6 separate regions of the Homo sapiens genome follow, and all the other regions are linked to region 3. The links are contacts of gene promoters, found by promoter capture Hi-C in blood cells and fetal thymus (Javierre and others, 2016). All regions are on one chromosome and are shown on one strand. Each heading gives the region's core, a stretch centred on a gene start or on the middle of the fragment in contact. The rest is flanking DNA. Distances are from core to core; before and after follow the strand shown. Region 1 overlaps TMEM72-AS1 (TMEM72 antisense RNA 1). Region 2 has its middle 68 kb from the start of LINC00839. Region 3 holds the start of ZNF32 (zinc finger protein 32). Region 4 overlaps LOC105378268 (a long non-coding RNA gene). Region 5 overlaps ZNF33B (zinc finger protein 33B). Region 6 has its middle 110 kb from the start of TMEM72.

Region 1 (3,848 bases), core at 649-3,148, 1.2 Mb before region 3:
AATGTGCAGTTTATTGGGATGGTGATAACTCTACCTTGACTCCACATTCAGGATAAGTAGTAGATCTTTTAGTTAGAATTACAATTCTCCATTCAGAAAAACTCTGAAGAGTTTATGAAAGACCGTTTGTAGTGAAAAGAATTAACGTAGTATTTATTTATTTTCTGTTTCCATATGCCTTTAGGATTAAAAATATTTGGATTAAAAACATTTTTTTCTTTTTGAAATCAAAGTTTTATTTTGAGATCACTGTAGATTCTCATGCAGTTGCTAGAAATATTACACAGAGACCCCATGTGCTCTTTACCCAGTTGCTTTCAGTGGTTAAACAAATCCTGGTATATCCATGGTACCATGAATTACAGTACAATATCACCACCAGGATATTGACATCAGAACAGCCAAGCTACAGGGCATTCCACTGCCGCAAGGATTCCTCATGTGGTCTATTTATAGTCATACCCACTTTCTTTCCTATCTCCACCCCTCCTTAGACCCTGGATACCACGACTCTGTGCTCCACATCTATAATTCTGTCATTTTTGAGAATATTATGTAAATTGAATCAGATAGTGTGTATCTGATAGTGTGTAAGCCAGTCTTTTGGAACTGGCTTTTTCTCACTAGCATCATTCTCTGGATATTCATCTGTTTGATGTATTTATCTATAGTTTCTTCTTACTGCTGAGTAGTATTCCATAGTATGGATATATATTAATAGTACCCAATTGTTTAACCATCTACCTGCTGAAGGACATCTAGTTGTTTCCAGTTTTTAACTGTTGTAAATAAATTGCTATAAATATTTGTGAACAAGTTTTTGTGTGAATGTAAGCCTTCATTGCTCTAGGACAAATGTCCAAGAGTATAATCACTGGGTCATATGTTATTTGCATGTTTATTTTTTTAAAAAATTGCCAAACTGTTTTCCAATGTGGCTGAATGATTCTACATTCCTACTTGCAATGTACGAGTCATCCAATTTCTCTGCATCCATGCATTGGGTGTTGCACCCAACATTGGTTGTTGCACCCAACATTGGGTGTTGTTACTATTTTTTTTTTTTTTTTTTGAGACGGAGTCTCGTTTTATCGCCCAGGCTGGAGTGCTGTGGCGCGATCTCCGCTCACTGCAAGCTCCGCCTTCCGGGTTCACACCATTCTCCTGCCTCAGCCTCCCGAGTAGCTGGGACTACAGGCGCCCGCCACTGCGCCCGGCTAATTTTTTGTATTTTTAGTAGAGACGGGGTTTCACCGTGGTCTCGATCTCCTGACCTCGTGATCCACCCGCCTCGGCCTCCCAAAGTGCTGGGATTACAGGCGTGAGCCACCGCGCCCGGCCTTACTATTTTTTATTTTAGCTATTAATGTAGGTATATTGGTGGTATCTCATTGTGTTTTTAATTTGCATTTCCCTAAAGGCTAATGATGTAAAATATTTCATGGGCTTATTTTCCATCTGTATATCCACTTTGTCTTTGTGTCTTTTGTGCATTTTCTAATTCGATTTTTTTAATTGTTAGTTTTGAAGCTTCTTTATATATTCTAGATATTAGTGCTTTGTTGGATATATGATCTGCAAATATTTTCTTACACTCTGTAACTCATCTTATCATTCTTTCAACGAAAGTTTTTAGGCCAGGCACAGTGGCTTACACCTGTAATCCCAGCACTTCAGCAGGCTGAGGTGGTGGATTGCTTGAGCTCAGGAGTTTGAGAACAGCCTGGGCAACATGGCAAGCCCCTGTCTCTTTAAAGTAATAACACAAAAGTTTTAAACTTTGATAAAGCATTCCCTCCCCTTCTATTTCCTGGAAAAGATGTACAGAATTGGTGTTAATTCTTCTTTAGATTTGGTAGGAATCTCCAGTGGAATCCTGGAGATAAATATTTCCATCTGGGCATAAATATTTCTTTTAGGGGGTTTTAAAATTACAAATTAAATTTCCCTAATAGTTATTGGCTATTCAAACTATTTATTTATATTGGATGAGCTGTGGTAATTTGTCCTTTTCAAGGACTTGGTCCATTAAATCTAAGTTTTTGTAGTTATGTGTGCTAAGTTGTTTATGGCTTTCCCTCGTCACCCTTTTGCTGTCTGAAGGGTCTGTATTGGTTTTCCTTGTTTTATTTCTGATATTAGTAATTTGTATCTTCTCTCTTTTCCCTTTGCCAATCTTATTAGAGGTTTGTCAGTTTCATTGATAACCTATTGTTTTTCTCTTTTGAATTTCACTGATTTATCTTTGTTATTTCTGGAAGCTTGCTTTGGATTTATTTTTGTCTTCTCTTTCTAGGTTCTTGACAGAGGTACATAAATAAATGATTTGAAACTTTTGTTTTCTATTGTGTACATTCAGTGCTATAAATTTCCCTCTTAGCACTGCTTTTAACTGTGTCCCACAAATTTTAATGTTATGTTTTAATTTTTATTTAGCTCGATGCATTTACAAATTTTCCTTGAGATAGCCTCTTTGACTCAGACTATTTAGAAATGTGCTTGTGAGTTTACAAGTGCTTGAAATTTTTCCTGTTATCTTTCTCTTACTGATTTCTAGTTGATTTTATTGTGATTAGAGAACATACTCTCTCTGATTTCAATTCTTTTACATTTGCTGAGGCTAGATTTATAGCCTAAGATAGTGTCTGTCTTTGTTTTCTGTTGCTTATAACAGAATACTCAAAACTGGGCGATTGATAAAGAAAAGGATTTTTTTTTTTTTATGGTTATAGAGGCTGGGAAGCCCAAGGTTGAGGGCTGCATCGTGTAAGGACCTTCTTGCTGGGGCGGACTTGCTGCAGAGTCCTGAGATGGTGCAGGGCATCACATAGAAAGGGGGCTTAACATGCTCATGTCCTAGTTTAGGTCTCCCTTCCTTTTCTTGTAAAGCCACCAGTCCCACCTCTATGACAACTTATTAACCAATTAATCCATGAATGAACTAGTCCATTCATGATGACAGAGCCTTTATGACCCAATCACCTCTTAAAGGTCCCACCTCTCAATACTGCCACATTGGGGATTAAATTTTACAATGAGTTTTGAAGGGGACAAACACTCAAATCATAGCACTGTCTATCTTGGCATAGGTTTGGTGGGCACTTGAAAAGAATGTTCATTCTGCTGTTGAGTGGAGTGTTCTATAAATGTCAATGAGCTCTTGCTGTTTGATGGTATCCTTGATTATTTTTTGTCTAGTTTTTTTTTACCAATGGTTGAGAGGGGGTGTTAAAGTTTCCAATGATAACCGTTGACTTGTCTATTTTTCCTTTTAGTTCTATCTGTTTTCACGTCACATATTTTGTCGCTCTGTTGGTTGGTGCATACACGTTTAGCATTTCTATGCCTTCTAAATGGATTGACTCTTTTATCATTAAATAACGTCTCTGGTAATTGCTTTTGCTCTGAAGTCTACTTTATCTGATATGAACATTGTTACTCATTTTTTTGATTAGTGTTTGCATTATATATATATATATATTTTTCTTCTATCCATTTACTTTCTACTTGCCTATATTGTTATACTTGAAGTGAGTTTCTTATAAACAACATATATTTGGGCCATTTAAAGAGTGTTCTCTGCCAACCTCTACCTTTTATTTGGCCTCTTTAGTGCATTCATGGAGTACTTAATTCTATTCCAAATTAAAGTCTTGTGAATGCTATCTGATAGACAGAAAATAAATCATCCAGTATCCTGAGTTCATGAGAGGTTAAGAAAGCTCATTTGATGTAATCCCAGCACTTTGGAAGGCCAAGGTGGGCGGATCACGAGGTCAGGAGTTTGAGACCAGCCTGGCCAACACAGTGAAACCCTGTCTCTACTAAAAATACAAAAATTAGCTAGG
Region 2 (3,335 bases), core at 733-3,232, 1.1 Mb after region 3:
TGTCTTGTGACAATTTATTATTTCTCTCAGTTTGAAGTTCTTTGAGCTTATCCTAATTATAGTTTCTTGAGAGTCTTGGGCATAGAGATTCATGTCTTTCATCAGTTTAGAAGGTCTTCAGACATTATTTCTTCAGATATTTTTGGTTCCCTTTTCTCCTCTTCATTAGCAACTCTTGTTATTAACTTGTTGGTATGCTTGATGTTGTCTCATAGATCTCTTAGGCACTGTCCATTTTTCACCATTCTTTTTCTCTGCTCCACAGAATGAGTAATCTCCATCAGTGTCTTCAATTTTGCTGATTCTTTGTTCTCTTTGAGCTCCAATCTTTTATTAAATCCTTTGACTGATTTTAAAAAAATTTAGTTTTTGTACTTGTCAGCTCCAGACATTCCTAATTACATTTTTGTAATTTTGTTCTGTATATTAATATTTTATATTTGGCAGGGCATCGCTCACCTGCTTTCTGTTAGTTGTCTGGTTTCATTTAGCTTTTTGTGCACATTTAGAACAGTTGATTTAAATTCTTTATCTAGTAAGACCAATAACAAAGGTGTCTTTGAGGACAGGTTTTATTCATTTCTTTTTTCTGTGTGTCTGTGGGTCATATTATCTTCTTTGCATTCCTCATAATTTTTTATTGAAAACTGAACATTTTGAATATTAAAATGTGTTAATTCTAGAAATCAGATTCTTTTCCCCAGAATTTGTTGTTGCTGTTTATTTTGCATTGTTTGTTTATTTTGTGACTTTTCAAAACTATTTTTGTAAAGTTCTTTGTTGTACATGGTCACAGAAACCTCTGTTCCCTTAGTTTAGTGGTCAGTTTGTGATCTGACAGAGATTTCTTTAAATGCCCAAAGCCAAAACAAAACAAAAAACTATTCTGGTCTTTGCATATTTGCCCTGTTTTAGGGCGCTCTTGTAATGGTTTGCCAGGCCATTTACATCTCTGTGTAAAGCTTTACTTCCTGCTTACACTGAGCCTGAAGGTCAACCAGACTGAAAGCTTAGGTTCCTCTCAGGTTTTTTGTGAGCGTGCATATTGCCCTGGCCTTGCACATGACCTCAATTCCCTGGTTTATGCAGGAGCTTTTCAAACCCCTTATCCCCACCCCGGCCCCCATGTATTTCCTTCCCAGTTTTTCCACTCCCAGTTTTATCAGTCCATCTGCTGCTTTTCTCATCTGGCTGCTGAGGCCAGATAATTGCCTTTAAATGCTTTCAACTAGCACTTCCTGGAAGACTAGCCCTGAGAAAGTTCCAAGGCAGGCAAAACAAAGACAAGCCTGTGAGCCACTTCTTCAGAGAGCCCGCATAGACAGATCAAAACACACAACTACAGTTCTCTGAAAACAAAGTGCATACTGTCCACTTTGGCACAGGCATCAGCAAGCCACGCCAGAAATGTTCTGGGCTTACTAGGTTTTTAATTAGATTGGAGAATTCTGAAAAGCTTGATGCTGAGAGGGTTTTTTTTGTTTTTCCAGCTTAATTGTTGCTTTAGTTTGGGATGGAATTTTGGAATTACCTATTCCATTTTCAGCCTGCTTCCCACATCAATTTTTGAGTAATTACTCTGTGGCACAACAGATATGCCTGGCCCATCTTGTCCTTTTCCTGCACTACCTTTGCCATCAGCCATTTCTCCAAAGGACATTGTTCTTTCTAGTGGAGGATGGAATTTAAAAACCAAGATCTGGGTGCTCATTGCTAGAGGCTGTCACTGCCTCAGACCCTCTCAATTGACAGAGATAGGAAATACATGTATGTATGTGTACATACACATACACAGAAATACACATGTGTACACTTATTTTTGTATTGGTCTGTCTATACATATTTTTTAAACAATGAGTTTACATAGACATTTCCCAGTTTCAATCTTAACCCCATAGCCTTTCTGTTTTCCATCTTTGTAACTTCTTTCTCCAATAGTGAGAAACCAGGCTATATCATTATCCACAATATTTATTTGCTCCTTCTCCCTGTTTGTATCCAATCTTTTTTTTTTTTTTTTGAGATGGAGTTTCACTCTTGGTGCCCAGGCCAGAGTGCAATGGCATGATCTCAGCTCACTGCAACCTCCACCTTCTGGGTTCAAGCGATTCTCCTACCTCAGCCTCTGAAGTAGCTGGGATTAGAGGCATGTGCCACCATGACTGGATACTTTCGTATTTTTAGTAGAGACGGGGTTTCTCCATGTTGGTCAGGCTGTTCTCGAACTCCCAACCTTAGGTGATCTGCCCGCCTTGGCCTCCCAAAGTGTTGGGATTACAGGCATGAGCCACTGCGCCCAGCCTGTATCTAATCTCTTAAACCTGCCAGTGCTACCTGTCTCCTCAGCTCTGGTTTGATCCCTTAGATCACCATCTTCCTGGAATTATCCATACTTGCTATATTAAATATTCAAATCAGATTTGATGTATTAAAAAATTTTAGAAGTTAAAAGGGGCCATTTGACAAAGTCTTATTTTTGGAAAAACATTATTACTTTATGTAAGCTTATCAAAAATAAAATTTCTGCTTATTGGCAGCACAGTATCTAAACCTGTCTCTCCAGGTTGTGAAGCCACTACTTTGTCCATTAAGTTATAAGGACACTTATCTCATTCATGAAGGAAGGCAGAGCTTCCTAATCACCTCCTAAAGGCCATGCCTCTTCATACTATTGCAATGGTATTAGATTTCAACATATGAAGTTGTGAAGGGCACAAACATTCAGACCATAACACTTAAGTATTTTATTCTACTGGATACTATCATAAATGGGATTATTTTCTGAATTTCCTTTTGGATAGTTCATTGTTGGAGTTTTTTTTTTTACAGAAAACCTAATTGTTATGTGTTGATTTTGTACTCTGCAACTTCGCCGAAACCATTTGTTAGCTCATAGTTTTTTTGTGGATTATTTGCTAAATAATGTTATCTGCAAATAGAGTAGTTTTACTTCTGCCTTTCAATTTGAATGTCTTTTATTTCTTTTTCTTGCCTATTTGCTCTGGCTAGAACTTTTAATACAGTGTTGAATTGCAGTGGTGAAAGCACTATGCTTTGCCTGTTCATGATCTTAGAGGGGATGTTTCAGTCTTTCACTATGGAGTATGTTACCTGTGAGTTTTTTATATATGCACTTTATTATGTTGAAGAACTTTGCTTCCTTTCCTCTGTTTTCTGACTTTTATTATCCTTGAATGGTATTGGGTTTTGTATTTTTTTCTGCCTCATTGATATGATCACGTGTTTATTCATTTGTTTTATTAATGTGGTGTCTTACACTGATTAATTTTCTTATATTGAACCACTCTTGCATTCCTGGGATAGATCCAACTTGG
Region 3 (3,437 bases), core at 73-2,572:
CTGTGTGCCGCCCTCCACCCCTTTCTCAGACTTGGGAGGAGTGAGGAGAGGAGCCACCTGGGGCAGTTCAGGAATGGGGAGCTTCAGGACAGTTTGCACCACACACTCTGGGACTTAGCTGTGCAACACCCCGACCCCCATGTGAGGAAGGTGGTGTTTGTTTGCTCCACCAGACTGTCAGCTCCTCCCTAGGAGCACGGAGTGTGTCTTGCTCACATTCGTATCCCCAGTGTCAGCACTTAAAATGGATTCAACGGATAAATGTTGAATGAAATTCAGAAATGATGTGCAATAGTAAAAGCTAACATTTAGGAATCAACTTATTACTTACAGACACCTTTGCATATTGAGTGAAATTAAGTTGTTTGATTTAACAAATCTGTGGCTTTGGGGTAGAGAACAAGAACATAGCAAGAGGAAGCATTCTTTATTAGTCCTTCACGAAAGAGGATGGACAGACACATCTACGGAGAGGGGCTCCAGAGGCAGGGACCCAGAGATACACCCGGCCAGGCAGAACAGCTCCAGGATGTGGCCCCGATCCTGGAAAAGTGCGTTTAAAAGAGGCTTAAGGCATATCAGACAGCCTGGCCAACATGGTAAAACCTTCATCTCTACTAAAAATACAAAAAAATTAGCCAGGCATGGTGGCACAGACCTGTAGTCCCAGCTACTTGGGAGGCTGGGGCAGGAGAATCACTTGAGCCCAGAAGGCGGAGGTTGCAGTGAGGCGACACCGTGCCACTGCACTCAAGCCTGGGAGACAGAGTGAAGGAAAAAAAAAAACAGGCATTATTAGAGAGGCTTTATCTCCTACGTGTTCAAAAGCAACCATGCTCCTCCCAGTATCTCAGGACGACTGGACTGCCTGTGTTCCTGTTGCTCTTCACAGAAGCTCCATGAAAGCGGGCTTCGCTTTTGTTCATGCAGCCAGAGGCTCAACACATGACCTCGAAGCCGCCAAGGCTTTATCAAACGGATTTCTCCCAAAAACTTCGTTTCCTTCCGCGACGCCCTGCAAGAACCCTGTATTCCTGAGTCCCTGGCTCAGCGTCTGCTACCCCGATGCTGTCAATCAGATCCTGCTAATCTGAGCGGCCGTGGCTCCGTCCCGGCTCCGCGTCCGCTGACAGGTCACCGCTGTGAGTCTCCGGATTACCAGTCCAAACGGGACGGCTTGAGGTCCCCGCGCCCTAGGGACCTGCGGGGCCCGAGCGCAGGGCGCGCCAGAGAACTACATTTCCCACAGAGCTCTTGGGAAGCCGGGGCCGCCGAGACCCACGGCCCGGCGGGCGGGCTCGCGGGGAGACTCCTGGGAGTTGTAGTCCATTCCGCCGGCGCCGGCGCTGGCGCTGCTGCGGGCTCGGCGCCGGCCTTTGTCTGCGGGCACGCGCCGCTGCGGTGAGTGAGGCCGCTGGCCGGGTCAGAGCGCCGGGGCAAGGCGGGGCTGCGCCATCAGACCGCTGTCCCGGGCCCTCCGTGTGGCCGCCTTATGCCAGCGGCCGCCAAGGAAATGAGCAGGCCTGGCCGGCCCGGGCCCCGAGGGAGGCCAGCCGCGAGCGGAGAGGTCGGCGGTCCGCAGAGCAGGGTCCCGTGGACCGGAGAGCGGGATGCCGAGGTTCAGGACGCAGGGCGGGCCCGGTGCCCGGGGCCCGGGGCCTGAGGCGGGAGGGCAGCGTCTGCGGAGAGGAGCAGGGCCCATGGCGTCGGGGCGTGGGAGGGGGAGGCCGCGGCAGGCTCACCCGGCCTCCGTGCGGGCTTCAGCGAGTGCGGGAAGCCGGTGCCGGCCTTCCGGGGTGGGAGGAGAGGCAGCCCCTGCGGGGGAGAGTAGGAAGCCAGGCAGCGTGTGGGAAACCACGCTACCCACAAGCTCCTAAACCTGAAACTGGCCCCAGGACATTTTCCAGACCGCCAAGTGTACCCCTCTTCTCATCCGCCCTCCAGAGGACGCCGGATTTTAGATCTTAAGTCTGGTGGTCTCGTCTGATACTCCTCTTGTTTGGTTCTTTCCTTCTCATTGTCCTACCTGATAGGACAGTGTTAGTAACCTGTTTAATAAGTGGGGAAGCAGAGTCAGGGCTGCTGGGTTACTCGCCCAAGATCATATCCTGGGGGAGCCACGGCAAGAAGCCAAGACTCACGGACTACTTCTAAGCTTTTTCCAAAGGATATAGTAGCCTTTCTAATAGGAAAATCAATGTTTTTAATTATAAAGCCACTTTTACAAAATCTTGGGGAAACTGCTTCCTCAGACCTGTGATCTAGGGAGAAAAATATGACAATTTCTCCCTTACTAATCACGGAGGTCCCTGATAGGCGGCGGAGTTGTAACTTGAAGACCTCACAGCAGGTGGAGAGGCAGAGCTGTGAATTCTACTCTAATTTCTGGAATCCCCGGCGACAGAGTCCAACCCCAGGCAGCAGGCGCCATGTACCCCAGGGACTTTTAATGTGTGTGCAGCTGTTGAGCAAGAATACCTTGAACTTCCAAATGATGTGCTGGCATGCTGGTAGGGAATTCCTTTGCAGCTTGTGTTCCAAGTTGGAAGTGAGTCCTCCAAATAAAAATTTAAATGATTCTCCTGGTCATCACAGCATGTAGCAGAATGTGCAGTTGTCAAGAAGAACCAGGTGCTTAGGTTGACAAAACAAAGAATGGTAGCATCATACTATTATTTCATTAAATCAGAAGGCCAGCATTTTGATAGGACAAATTAGAGGGAAACAAGGAGTATGCATTGAACCACTGCATTTCTTAAAAGTATAAGAATTCAGTAATTAGGATCCTGAAGTAAGAAGAAATATTTTTTTTAAAAAATAGATCATGTGGGCCAGGTGTAGTAGCTCATGCCTACATGTCTTGGGAGGCCGAGGCAGGAGGGTCACTTCAGGCCAAGAGTTGGAGACCAGCCTGGGCAGGATAATGAGACCCGATCTCTACAAAAAAAAGTTAAAATAATTTTTAAAAATTAGCCAGGCTTGGTGGTGCTTACCTGTAGTCCTAGTTATTTGGGAGGCTGAAGTGGGAGGATCCGTTGAGTCCAGGAGTTCAAAGTCACAGCAAGCTGTAATTGAGTCACTGTACTCCAGCCTGGGCAACAGAGCAAAATCTTGACTCAGAATTTTAAAAAAATTAAAAAATAATTTAGAGCACATACAAGAGGATTCCTAGGATCTGAAAGAGCACTTCAATCTGGTCAAACTCTCTTCCTTTCTGTTCAATTTTATAAGCATTCTGACCAGCTCTTTAGTGATTAGGAACTAGACAACTGTCTAATGTAAGAGCATACATTTTGGATCCAGAAAGTCTTGGATTTGAACCTTTGCTCCACTTTGACTCCTTATTTTCTGTGGGTTTCTGGGCAAGTTACTTAACCTAGTTGGAGTGCCTTGGGCTTGGAGTCCAGAGTAGGTCTTTCTTTTCCAAGAATTGACAA
Region 4 (3,711 bases), core at 1,086-3,585, 1.0 Mb after region 3:
GAGGGCAGGATGGGGAAAGGTTGGTATATGAATACAAAATTACAGCTAGATAGAAGAAATGAGCTCTGGTGTTCCACAGCCCTGTAGGATAAATATAATTGACTGTAATTTATTGTGTATTTTCAAAAAGCTAGAAGAGAGGATTTTGAATGCTTACAACACACACACAAATGTCTGAGGTGAGGGATATGCTAATTAACCTGATTTGATCATTATACATTTTATACACATGTCAAAATATCAGTCTATATCCCCTAAATATGCACAATTATTAGGTGTCAACGAAATGTAAAAGGGAAAAAGGTACAAAAACCGAAGAAGAAATGAGAGGAAAAAATGAGCCTCCAGAGTTAATCAAATTCACCGTAAAAATGAATAGCTGTGGCCAGGTGTGGTGGCTCAGGCCTGTAATCTCAGCACTTTGGGAGGCCGAGACTGGTGGATCACCTGAGGTCGGGAGTTCGAGACCAGCCTGAACAACATGGAGAAACCCCGTCTTTAGGAAAAATACAAAAAATTAGCCAGGCACGGTAGCACATGCCTGTAATCCCAGCTACTTGAGAGACTCACTTGAACCCGGGAGGCAGAGGTTTCAGTGAGCCAAGATCATGCCATTGCACTGCAGCCTGGGCAACAAGAGCAAAACTCTGTCTCTGTCTCAAAAAAAAAAAAAAAAAAAAAAAAAAATAGAATAGCTGTGATGGTTAATGGTTAATTTTATGTGTAAACTTGACTTGGTCACAGGGTGTCTGGATTAAACATTACTTATGGGTGCATCTGTGAGGGTGTGTACAGATGAGATTAGCATTTGAATCAGTAGACTCAGTAAAGCAGATTGCCCTCCGTATGTGTATGGACATCATTCAATCCCCTAAGGGCCTGGATAGAACACAAGGCAGAGAGGAGGAATTCACCCATATTTTCTGCCTCATTGTTGAGTTGGGACATTTCATCTTATCCTTTCCTGTCCTTGCACTGGGATTTACACCATTGGCTTCCGTGGTTCTCAAGCCTTTGGACTCATACCAGAATTACACCACCAGCATTCTTGGATTTCCAGCTTGCAAATGACAGATTGTTGGACTTCTTAGCCTCCATAGACATGTGAACCAATTTCTCATCATCAATGTCTCTTTCTCCCTTACTCCCTCCTATTGGTTCTGTTTCTCTGGAGAATCCTGATTAATACACTGGGAATAAACATTTCCCCAAGCCCATACCATAGGTGTATATTAGTGTTTTTTACAATCTTTTCAAATCTTAAACTTAAAAATATTTTATTTATTTACAATTTCTCCCAATTGGAAACAACTTGCATATCCCTGGACTGGGGAATGGACAAGGAAGCTGGTAAATCCATACCAAGAAATAGGAGTCAGCAATGTCAGAGTTGACAAATTACTCTTCAGAAAGCTTTAGTTCCCTGTTGTTTGTTGCTCAAGACCAACTTCCTTGTACTTCCTTGTCTCCAAGCTACCTGTTCTGTAAACAACCTTCCCGCCTTTGCCATGCCCAGACAAGTCCGGATATGCCTTCCCGCTTAGTAATGGACAGTCCCCCTTCCTTCCCGCCTAATAGACCCTGTCAATTTTAAACCTTAGCCAATCGAGTTAGCTTTGATTGTGAGGTCTAATCCCAGCCAATGGGGAAGGGACACAGAAGTGCTAGGAACTGCATCAGGGATAAAAACCCCTGCCCTGCCCTTCTCGGTGTTCTCTTGTGATCATGACTGGCATAACCTGCACCCTTCTGCAGAAGTAAATTTCTCTTGCTGAGGAATTTTCTGCCTTTGTGCTGGTTTTCTCTGCGGCACCAGGCACTTGTTTCTAACAGCAAGAAAAACAGAAGTATTGGTACACAAAACAACACGGAAGGATCTCAATTGCATTGTGTTAAGTAAAAGATACCAGATTCAAAGACTGCATATTGTATGATTCCATTTATATAATATTCTAAAAAAGGCAAACATACAGGCCCAAAGACTAGATAGTGGCTGCAAGAGGCTAAGAGTGGTTAGAGAATCTGACTTTCAAAAGGTAGCATGGAGGAATTTTATTGACAGGTGAAATAATTTTGTATCTTGCTTGTGGTGGTGGTTACACAAATCTGTGCGTTTGTCAAAACTCATAAAATTATGCAACAAATAAAGTGAACTTTTCAGTATATAAAGCATAAATTTAAAAATGTAAATTTCAATATGTTTCACATATTTTTACTCAAATATTTGCATTTCCTTTTTTCTTTTTTTCTTTTTTGAGATGCAGTCTCACTCTGTCACCAGGCTGGAGTGTAGTAGTGCGATCTTGGCTCACTGCAACCTCCACCTCCCGGGTTCAAGCGATTCTCCTGCCTCAGCCTCCTGACTAGCTGGGACTACAGGTGCGCACCACCACGTCCAGCTAATTTTTGTATTTTTAGTACAGAAGGGGTTTCACCATTTTGGGCAGGATGTTCTCAATGTCTTGACCTCATGATCTGCCCGCCTCAGCCTCCCAAAATGCTGGGACTACAGGCGTGAGCTGCCATGCCCGGCCATATTTGCATTTCTTTCAATTCTCATAATGGACTTAAAAAGTTTTGCTGGAATGGAGCTGCTTATTTTTCTCTATTATAAAATGTAACTGATATTAAATTTATAGTTTCTGTCTTTGGTATCACATCCCTTTTTGGTTTTTTTTGAGACAAAGTCTCACTTTGTCACCCAGGCTGGAGTGCAGTGGTGCCATGATGGCTTACTGCAACCTGGGGCTCAAGTGATCGTCCAACCTCAGCCTCCTGAGTAGCTGGGATCACAGGCGCCTGCCTACATGCCCAGCTAATTGTTATTTTTAATTTTTTGTAGAGACAGGGGTCCCACTATAACGCCCAGGCTGGTCTTGGACTCTAAGGATCAAGTGGTCCTCCTGCCTCCACCTCCCAAACTGCTGGGATTACAGGTGTGGGCCACTGTGCCTGGCCCACATGTCAATTTTCAAAAATTTATACTCGTTTAAATGTTTCAATACTGTATACATGTGAATTTTATCACGTGTGATCTATATATATCTCTATATTCCAAATTGTTAGGAATGACATGCTCTTTGGAATACTCCATTCTTTCCCTCACTGTTTTGAAATGCTGTATTTACTACACATTAAAGAATACTCTCAATCATGGTGTCTTATTTCCATGGAGCAGGTGCCAAACTACTTTGAATAGAGCAATATTATATATATAGATAGATATAGATATTTCTCAGGCATTTTTTCAAGCTTTTTAAAACGTATAATGGCTGTTCATTTAGTTTTTTACTTACTCTGGATAAAGTTGACAATGCTTTTGTAAAGTACACAATACACTAAAGATCAAAGAGAAAAAATACATAAAAAAATTTGTTGATATTCTTTTAGGAATTTTGTCTTCCTAAGAAAGGTACAGATAGACTAAATGTATTTCCATTTAGTCAAGCAATTTTAATGTCACAGGGGAAATCATGTGACATTTATTTTCTTCTTTCGGATTATGTCTATTTTCTGACTTTTCAATTTCCGTTTATTGCGTTAACGATTTTGATGAAGTAGCTTTCCTGTGGCACCTCCCCCATCCCCCCCATCCCTGCTCTCAAAGAATCGCTGATAGTGTCAAAGTCTTTTAAACTGTATCAATAAGATCTACTTCCTAACATTTAAAGTGAAACTGACACACAGCTGTCCTTTCCTTGAGGCGTCTGT
Region 5 (3,353 bases), core at 91-2,590, 1.0 Mb after region 3:
ATCAACCCTGTGTCCAGCATACCCAGGCTGTATATGCTACCCATGAGTTAATTACTTAGTAATTGTCTTGATTATTTACTGTCACTATATGTGTCCAAGTAACCCTTATTTTACTTAATAATGGCCCTAAAGTGCAAGAGTAGCGATGCCAGCATATTGTTATAACTTTTCTATTTTATGATGTTGTTAATCTCTCCCTGTCCCTAAGTTATAAATTAAACTTTATCTTAGGTTTGTATATTTAGGAAAAAACAGTATTTATAGGGCTCAATACTATCTGAGGCTTCAGGCTTCCACTGGGCGTCTTGGAATGTATCGCCCTTGGATAAGGAGTGACTACTGTATGTATATATTAATAGCTATAATAATCAAGAGGACAGGATGTTGGTTGAATATACACATTGATAGAACATACACATAGAACAATGGAAAAGAATAGAAAACTTCAACATTGATTATGCTGTTATAGACTGTATGTTCATGTCTCCCCAAAATTCATATGTTGGAGCCCTCAACCCTAGTGTGGTGGTGTTTGGAGATGTGGAGCCCTTGGGAGGTAATTAGGGTTAGATTAGGTCATGAGGGTGGGGCCCTCACGATGAGGTTAGTGCCTTACAGGAAGAGGAAGTGAGAGCTTCCTCACTCTCCATGTGCGTAGAGGAAAGGCGATGTGAACATGCAGTGGCCAACTGCAAGCTGGGAAGAGGCCCTCACCAGGCCCTGGCCATGCTGGCATCCTGATCTCAGACTTCCAGCATTTGGAACCGTGAGGAAATAAACTTCTGTTGTTTAAGCCATACTGTCTGGTATTTTGTTATGGCAGCTGAAGCTAAGACATTTGACAAACTGTTGACAAAAATGCAAAAGAAATTCAGTCAGGTATTCAGCAAATGATGCTGGAGCATTTTGACAATATATTGTTTTGTGTGTAGTAAAATATATATAACATGAAATTTGCCATTTTAACAGTTTTTAAGTGTACAGTCTAGTGGCATTACACTCACAATGTTGTATAGCCATAACCACAATTTCTAAAACATTTGCATTATTTCAAACAGAAACTGTATTGCCATTAAGCAGTAACTACTCATTCCCCCCTCCCAACAGCCTATGGTAACCTCTTATCTAGTTTGTCTCTGTGAGTTTTGAATGTTGTGAATATTTCATGTCAGTAGTGTGACAACATTTGGCCTTTTGTGTCTGCCTTATTTCACTTAGCATGATGCTTTCAGCTTTCATCTGTATTGTAACAAGTATCAAGACTTTCTTTTCTGGCTGTTTAATCCATTCATCTGTTGATGTACACTTGGGTCGTACACCTTTTGGCTGTTGTGAATAATGCTTCAGTGAACACTGGTATATCATTATCTGCTCAAAGTTCCTGTTTTCATTTCTTTTGGATATAAACCTAGGAGTAGAATTGTTTTATCAAAGTGTATTTCTTTTAGCTTTTTGGGGTACCACTGAATTATTTTTAATGTGTATATATACACAGATATTTGTTTTTGAGACAGAGTCTCACCGTCACCCAGGCCAGAGTGCAGTGGCACGATCTCGGCTCACCACAGCCTCTGCCTCCTGTGTTCAAGTGATTCTCCTGCCTCAGCTTCCCGAGTAGCTGGGACTACAGGCGCATGCCACAGTGCCCAGCTAATTTTTGTGGCTTTAGTAGAGACGGGGTTTCACCATGTTGGCCAGGCTTGTCTTGAACTCCTGACCTCAGGTGATCACCCACCTTGACCTCCCAAAGTGCTGGGATTACAGGCGTGAGCCACCGCACCCGGCCGTACCTACTCTTTCTTTTGTTGCTTATCCATTTTATGTCATAGTTAAGAATCCATCACCAAACCCAAAGTTTTCCTTATGTTTTCTTCTGAACATTTCTTCTAAACATTTTATTGTTTTAGCTCTTATTTTCAGTTCATTTTTGTGTATAGTCAAAGTAGGGATCTAACTTTATTTTCTAACTTTATTTTCATGTGGAAATCCAGTTAACCCAGCATCATTTTTTTGGTCATTTGTCATCATTTCAAACAGAAACTCTATCACCATTAAGCAGTAACTACTCATTCCCATTCCCACCAGCCTGTGGTAACCTCTAATCTATTTTGTCTGTGAGTATGACTGTTGTATCTCATGTCAGTAGCGTGACAATATTTGGCCTGCATTAACTGAAAGAAAAGGCTTTTCTTTCTCCCAGTGAATAGAATTGACGCCCTTGTCAAAAATCAGTTGACCATAGGCAGTGTATTTTTGGGCTCTCACTTGTATTCCGTTTGTCTGTATGTCTACACCTATGACATGACCCACTGTTTGGATTATTGTAGCTTTCTAATAAGTTGTGAAATTGGACGTTTTGAGTCCTCTGACTTTGTTCTTCTTTTTAAAAATTGTTTTCGCTATTCAGGGCCCTTATAATTCCACGTGACTTTAAGGATCAGCTTTTTATTTTGGTAAAAATGCTGATGGAATTTTGATAGGGATTGTGTTAAATCTGTAGATCATTTTGGATGGTATTAGCCTTTTAAAAATATGACATCTCTCAAACTGTGAACATGAGATACTGTTTCCTTTATTTATGCCTTCTTTAATATTTTTCATCAGTATTTTGTAGTTTTTAGTATACAAGTCTTGCACCTTCTTGGTTAACTTTATTTCTAGATAGTATTTTATTCTTTTAGATGGTGCTATAGGTAGAATTGTTTTCTTAATTTTCTTTTCAGATTGTTCTTTGCAGGTGTGTAGCAACACAACGGATTTTTGTGTGTTGATGTATCCTGCAACTTTGCAGAATTCATTCATTAGCTATAGTATCTTTCTTGTAGTTTCTTTATGATCTATCTTTAGGATTATGTCACCTGTGAGTAGGCATAGTTTTATGTCTTCCTTTGCAATGGATGCCTCTCTTTCTTTTTCTTGTTTGGCTGGAACTTCTACTGCAGTGTTAAATAGCACTGGCAAAAGTGGGTATTTTTGTCTTCTTCCTGATGTTAAGAGGAAAGCTTTCTTTCATCAGTGAATATGATGTAAAGCTGTGAATTTTCTATATGTGCCCTTTATCATGTTGAAGAAGTTCTATTCTGTTTTGTGTTTTCTGAATGTATTTGTCCTGAAAGGGGTTGGATTTTGTCAACTGCCTTTACTGCATCAACTGAGATGATCGTGTCCTTTTTTTACTTGTTTTATTAATGAAGTGTATTACATTCATTTTCTTTTCTTTTTTTTTTTAAAAACATTGATTTTCTTATGTTGAACCACACAGGCATTTCCAGGATAAGTCCCCCTTGGTCACTTGGTCATGGTGTATACTCCTCTTAATATACCATTAAATATATTTTACTGGTATTTGTGTG
Region 6 (3,381 bases), core at 739-3,238, 1.2 Mb before region 3:
GCAGTGAAAATGGCCTGAAGAAGAGGCAAAGGGACTTGCTACAACAGCCACTGGCACCTGCCTCTGGGCTTGCCTTTTGTCTCCCTTTCCTTGCTCTTTAAACCTGGCTATCCTTACCCTCCCTTGGAGAACACTCCTCCCAAGACTGACTGTAAAGTAAGGCTGCCCCTGCAGAGCCCGAAGATGAGCCTGGCTGAGAAACAAGGAATAATCTCCCGGCTTTCCAGACTCCCCTCTCCCCACTGCTGGTGAAGCTCATGGCTGGTGAAACCTTGGCATGTTTAACCTCTCCATACAAGTAACTCATTGACTGTAGATTTTAGAAGCATCTGAAAATACAAGATAACGTTAAAGTATGCATGTGTGTGTTTGAAAGAACAGATGGGAAAATCCCTTTCCCATAGCTATTAATAACACTTTCCAGGCACTAAAAGAACAACAGCCATAACTCTCACCCATCCAAAAAGTGCTGAGCACAGCACTTTCTTACTTTACACACCTCCTCCCTCCTAATTGCTCACTGGTTGGATTTCTGATCTGATAACTCTATTTAAAAACTGAGTTTTGCGGGAATTTCATCCTTGTCTGAGCTCTTTCTTTTGGCCAAGCTCTTCATCTCTGTAGCTGCCTCTCTTACCCTGTGAAACTGGCCAGGGTGGCACCTACTGCCAGAGGTGCTGCAACCCCAAACAGGGGCATGATTGTCATGTGGCTAGGGCCACTCAATGCAGTTCCAGAACACCCTAACTCCCCCAGAGGAATCGCCATGTGGGCCAAGTCCTGCATCTTCTGGCACTTGAGGTCCCTTCATCTTGTCTCCTGCCACTTGATAGAGGCCTGGTGTCAAATGAGCACTCTGCGAATGCTTATGGAATGAGCATTTTCACCTCTCACCTCTGCTCCCTCTGCTACCAAAGTTCTCAAGGTTCTTGGGTCACATCGTGGCCCTTCCTGGGTTTGAGTCTGAACAAGAACAAGCTGTTCTGTCTGCCCATCTTGCCTTAAGAGCACCCATTTTCCAGTTTCCTGATGCTGAGTCCATGTGTGTTTACCTTTGAAAGGAATCAATTGAAAATCTGCAAAAGGGTTGAAAAGTGGAAAATGGTGGCATAAATAGTCTGAGGCATAAAGGAAATTTTTGATGAAAGGAAGTCAATGGCATTGGAACCAGTGGTTTCCAGGATTCAGCACTGAGATGGGATAGAAATGGATGGGCTTCCCCAGAGAGTGTGAACCACCCCAGCTTGGAATAGTAGGGCTGGGAGCGCTGAGGCCAGGTAGGAAGCAAGTTGGAGGGAATGATTTGGAGGACCACACTAAGACGCTGCCCAAGCTTCACTTGGCTCAGCCTGCAAGCCAGGGAAAAGGAAGATGTGCCTGTAGGCTCTGAATACCAGTGGGCAGAAGCACAGGGTGTCTCAGCTGGCGCAGAGCTGCACAATACACCCAGGAAACACCAACCCCAATTACTCGGCCCTGCAGTGAAACCCTAATTCTTCTGGCAGCTGAGGCAGGATGAGCTAAGTTTGTATGGATGAGGGAAGTTGATCAAAATTTACTATTGAGTGAAAACATGAGTCACAAAAATTATATTTCCATATAGTACACACATGCATGCACAAACAAACATGCACACACACACACACACACACACACACACGCACATCCCTGAAGGGATTTACAACCAAACGAACTCAGGGTTCAGATTCGGAACTGGACTTTCTCTTATGGGTACTGTCTTATTTCTCCTCTCATGCAATGATCTTGTTCCTGATTCTGAGGGACTGGCTGATTCTGATTTCCTGGTGGTCATGCTTTGGGGAAGAAACCTCCAGTCCCCTGACTGTGCATCTCAAACCCTGATTTCCCTTCCAGGACAGTTCCATGTGTGTGCCTGCAGCCAATTTTCTTGATAAGTTGACTATAGCCTCCCAATAGAATCTATAGATTGTCTGTGGGATGTTTGCACTCCGTTGAGCCTGGTTTGATACATAAATGTTTGATTGACCACATAATTTAAGTAATGTCCATATTGTGTCACTGGAGGCCTCTGGGTGGAGGCTGGACCTCAGGGGCCTGTGGAAAGATGCTTGGATTTTCTTCTAAGTTTAAAGGGGACTGGATCTCGGCTGCCATGTCATTACCCTCTTTTACTCAGCCTCTGCATAACCCCTGGTTCTGATGGTGCACAGGTGGGAAGGCCATTGTGCCTCCCTTATTCTGGGCCACAGGAGACACCCGGCTCTGAGCACTCAGCCAGAGGCCTCAGGATCACCCCAGGGAGACTGGCACCCAGCCAGCTCATTGCCTGACTTGGCTGCAGCCCCAGCCTGTCTTTGAGGTATTTAGAAAGCGCAGCATGAATGCCTCTGGCATGGCCCCAGCTGTGGGAAAATAAAATGCGTCATTTCTCAGAGACAAGTTCTCAGTGTCAAGTTCAGTGTCATTCAAGTGGCCCTAATAGAAGACTGTGCTTCCTGTCCAGGGAGTATTGCCCTCCCATGTTGGACAACTGCAGGTGCCACTGTCCAGAGGACACAGGGACAACCTGAGAGACCTGGTTCTGATTTTCTATAAAGAAAATTCATCACCTGAATTTCCACTATTTTAAGACAATCTCCATTGTTAAAAAAAATAAGCTTTGATGCACTGAAATTTCGGAGTTTATTTAAGCAGTAATTCATGAATTGGGCAGCTCCAAACTAGAGTGGTTTGGAACTCCCCAGAGGTAGATGAAAAGCTTTAAAAGGGTGAATATGGAAGCAGAGCAAATAAATTAATTGGTTAAAATTTGAACAATGGCCTCATTTGGACTATGTAGGTGGGAAGTTCAAAGTGATATAACTAATAATGTCCAGTTGGCTGGTGGTGGGCTGAGCTTAAGTTTAATTTTTAAAAAATTAGTCATATATAGGAAATGAGTCTGAGTTGGGTTTCAGGGGTTTGTTTATGTAGGAACAAAGGGCATTGGAGCCACCTCAGTCTAATGGCCTCCCCATTTAATTATTTTAACATCGTTAGTATTCTAGAACCAACCTTTATATTTTAAAACATATATAGAGCACTCTCTCTCTCTCTCACACATACACACATATACACGTGTGTACATATGTATACATATTTATTTTTGTGTATTGATCTTTTATCCTGTGACCTTGCTGAACTTACTTATTCTAGGTTTGTTTGTTTGAAAAATTTCTCAGAACTTTCTATGTAGACTATTATGTCATCTCCCAGTATTGAAAGTTTTTCTTTCCATCCTATGTGCCTTTTACTTTCTTTTCATTCCTCATTGTGCTGGCTGGATTTTCCAGTACTGTGCTGAATGATAGTGGTGAGAGTGGACATCCTTTTCTTGTTCTAGAGCTTAGGTGCAAGCAC

The links. The method cuts DNA at HindIII sites, captures the fragments that hold promoters and counts their contacts. A CHiCAGO score of 5 or more calls a contact.
Region 1: a contact is called between a fragment that was not itself captured here and the fragment with the promoter of ZNF32 in region 3, in 2 of 17 cell types (neutrophils and endothelial precursors). The highest score is 7.7, in neutrophils.
Region 2: a fragment that was not itself captured here is called in contact with the fragment with the promoter of ZNF32 in region 3 in 1 of 17 cell types (non-activated CD4 T cells); the score reaches 5.6 in non-activated CD4 T cells.
Region 4: a fragment that was not itself captured here is called in contact with the fragment with the promoter of ZNF32 in region 3 in 7 of 17 cell types (total B cells, naive B cells, activated CD4 T cells and 4 more); the score reaches 7.3 in total B cells.
Region 5: a fragment that was not itself captured here is called in contact with the fragment with the promoter of ZNF32 in region 3 in 1 of 17 cell types (total CD8 T cells); the score reaches 6.1 in total CD8 T cells.
Region 6: a contact is called between a fragment that was not itself captured here and the fragment with the promoter of ZNF32 in region 3, in 1 of 17 cell types (endothelial precursors). The highest score is 5.2, in endothelial precursors.

What each region holds. Positions count from the first base shown.
Region 1 is chr10:44,840,266-44,844,113 of GRCh38, reverse strand. All of the region lies in intron 2 of TMEM72-AS1 (TMEM72 antisense RNA 1), which reads left to right. Among named protein-coding and RNA genes, the nearest start is that of TMEM72, 69 kb to the left of the region's middle. The HindIII fragment of the contact is 731 bases long and covers 1,533-2,263 here.
Region 2 is chr10:42,541,920-42,545,254 of GRCh38, reverse strand. It overlaps the pseudogene ZNF37BP. Among named protein-coding and RNA genes, the nearest start is that of LINC00839, 68 kb to the right of the region's middle. The HindIII fragment of the contact is 1,048 bases long and covers 1,459-2,506 here.
Region 3 is chr10:43,646,766-43,650,202 of GRCh38, reverse strand. It overlaps ZNF32 (zinc finger protein 32), which reads left to right and starts at 1,322. Exons shown (of 3, transcript NM_006973.3): 1 at 1,322-1,401. All of the region lies in intron 1 of ZNF32-AS3 (ZNF32 antisense RNA 3), which reads right to left. It overlaps ZNF32-AS2 (ZNF32 antisense RNA 2), which reads right to left. Exons shown (of 3, transcript NR_047558.1): 2 at 2,994-3,091; 3 at 2,184-2,634. RefSeq lists a silencer at 1,297-1,816 and an enhancer at 3,368-3,437. The HindIII fragment of the contact is 4,172 bases long and covers 1-2,157 here.
Region 4 is chr10:42,638,849-42,642,559 of GRCh38, reverse strand. The region is part of intron 1 of LOC105378268 (a long non-coding RNA gene); the gene reads right to left. Among named protein-coding and RNA genes, the nearest start is that of ZNF33B, 2.1 kb to the right of the region's middle. RefSeq lists a silencer at 685-979. The HindIII fragment of the contact is 1,839 bases long and covers 1,416-3,254 here.
Region 5 is chr10:42,621,419-42,624,771 of GRCh38, reverse strand. The region is part of intron 4 of ZNF33B (zinc finger protein 33B); the gene reads left to right. Among named protein-coding and RNA genes, the nearest start is that of ZNF33B, 15 kb to the left of the region's middle. The HindIII fragment of the contact is 3,328 bases long and covers 1-3,004 here.
Region 6 is chr10:44,801,104-44,804,484 of GRCh38, reverse strand. No RefSeq gene overlaps it. Among named protein-coding and RNA genes, the nearest start is that of TMEM72, 110 kb to the left of the region's middle. The HindIII fragment of the contact is 1,306 bases long and covers 1,336-2,641 here.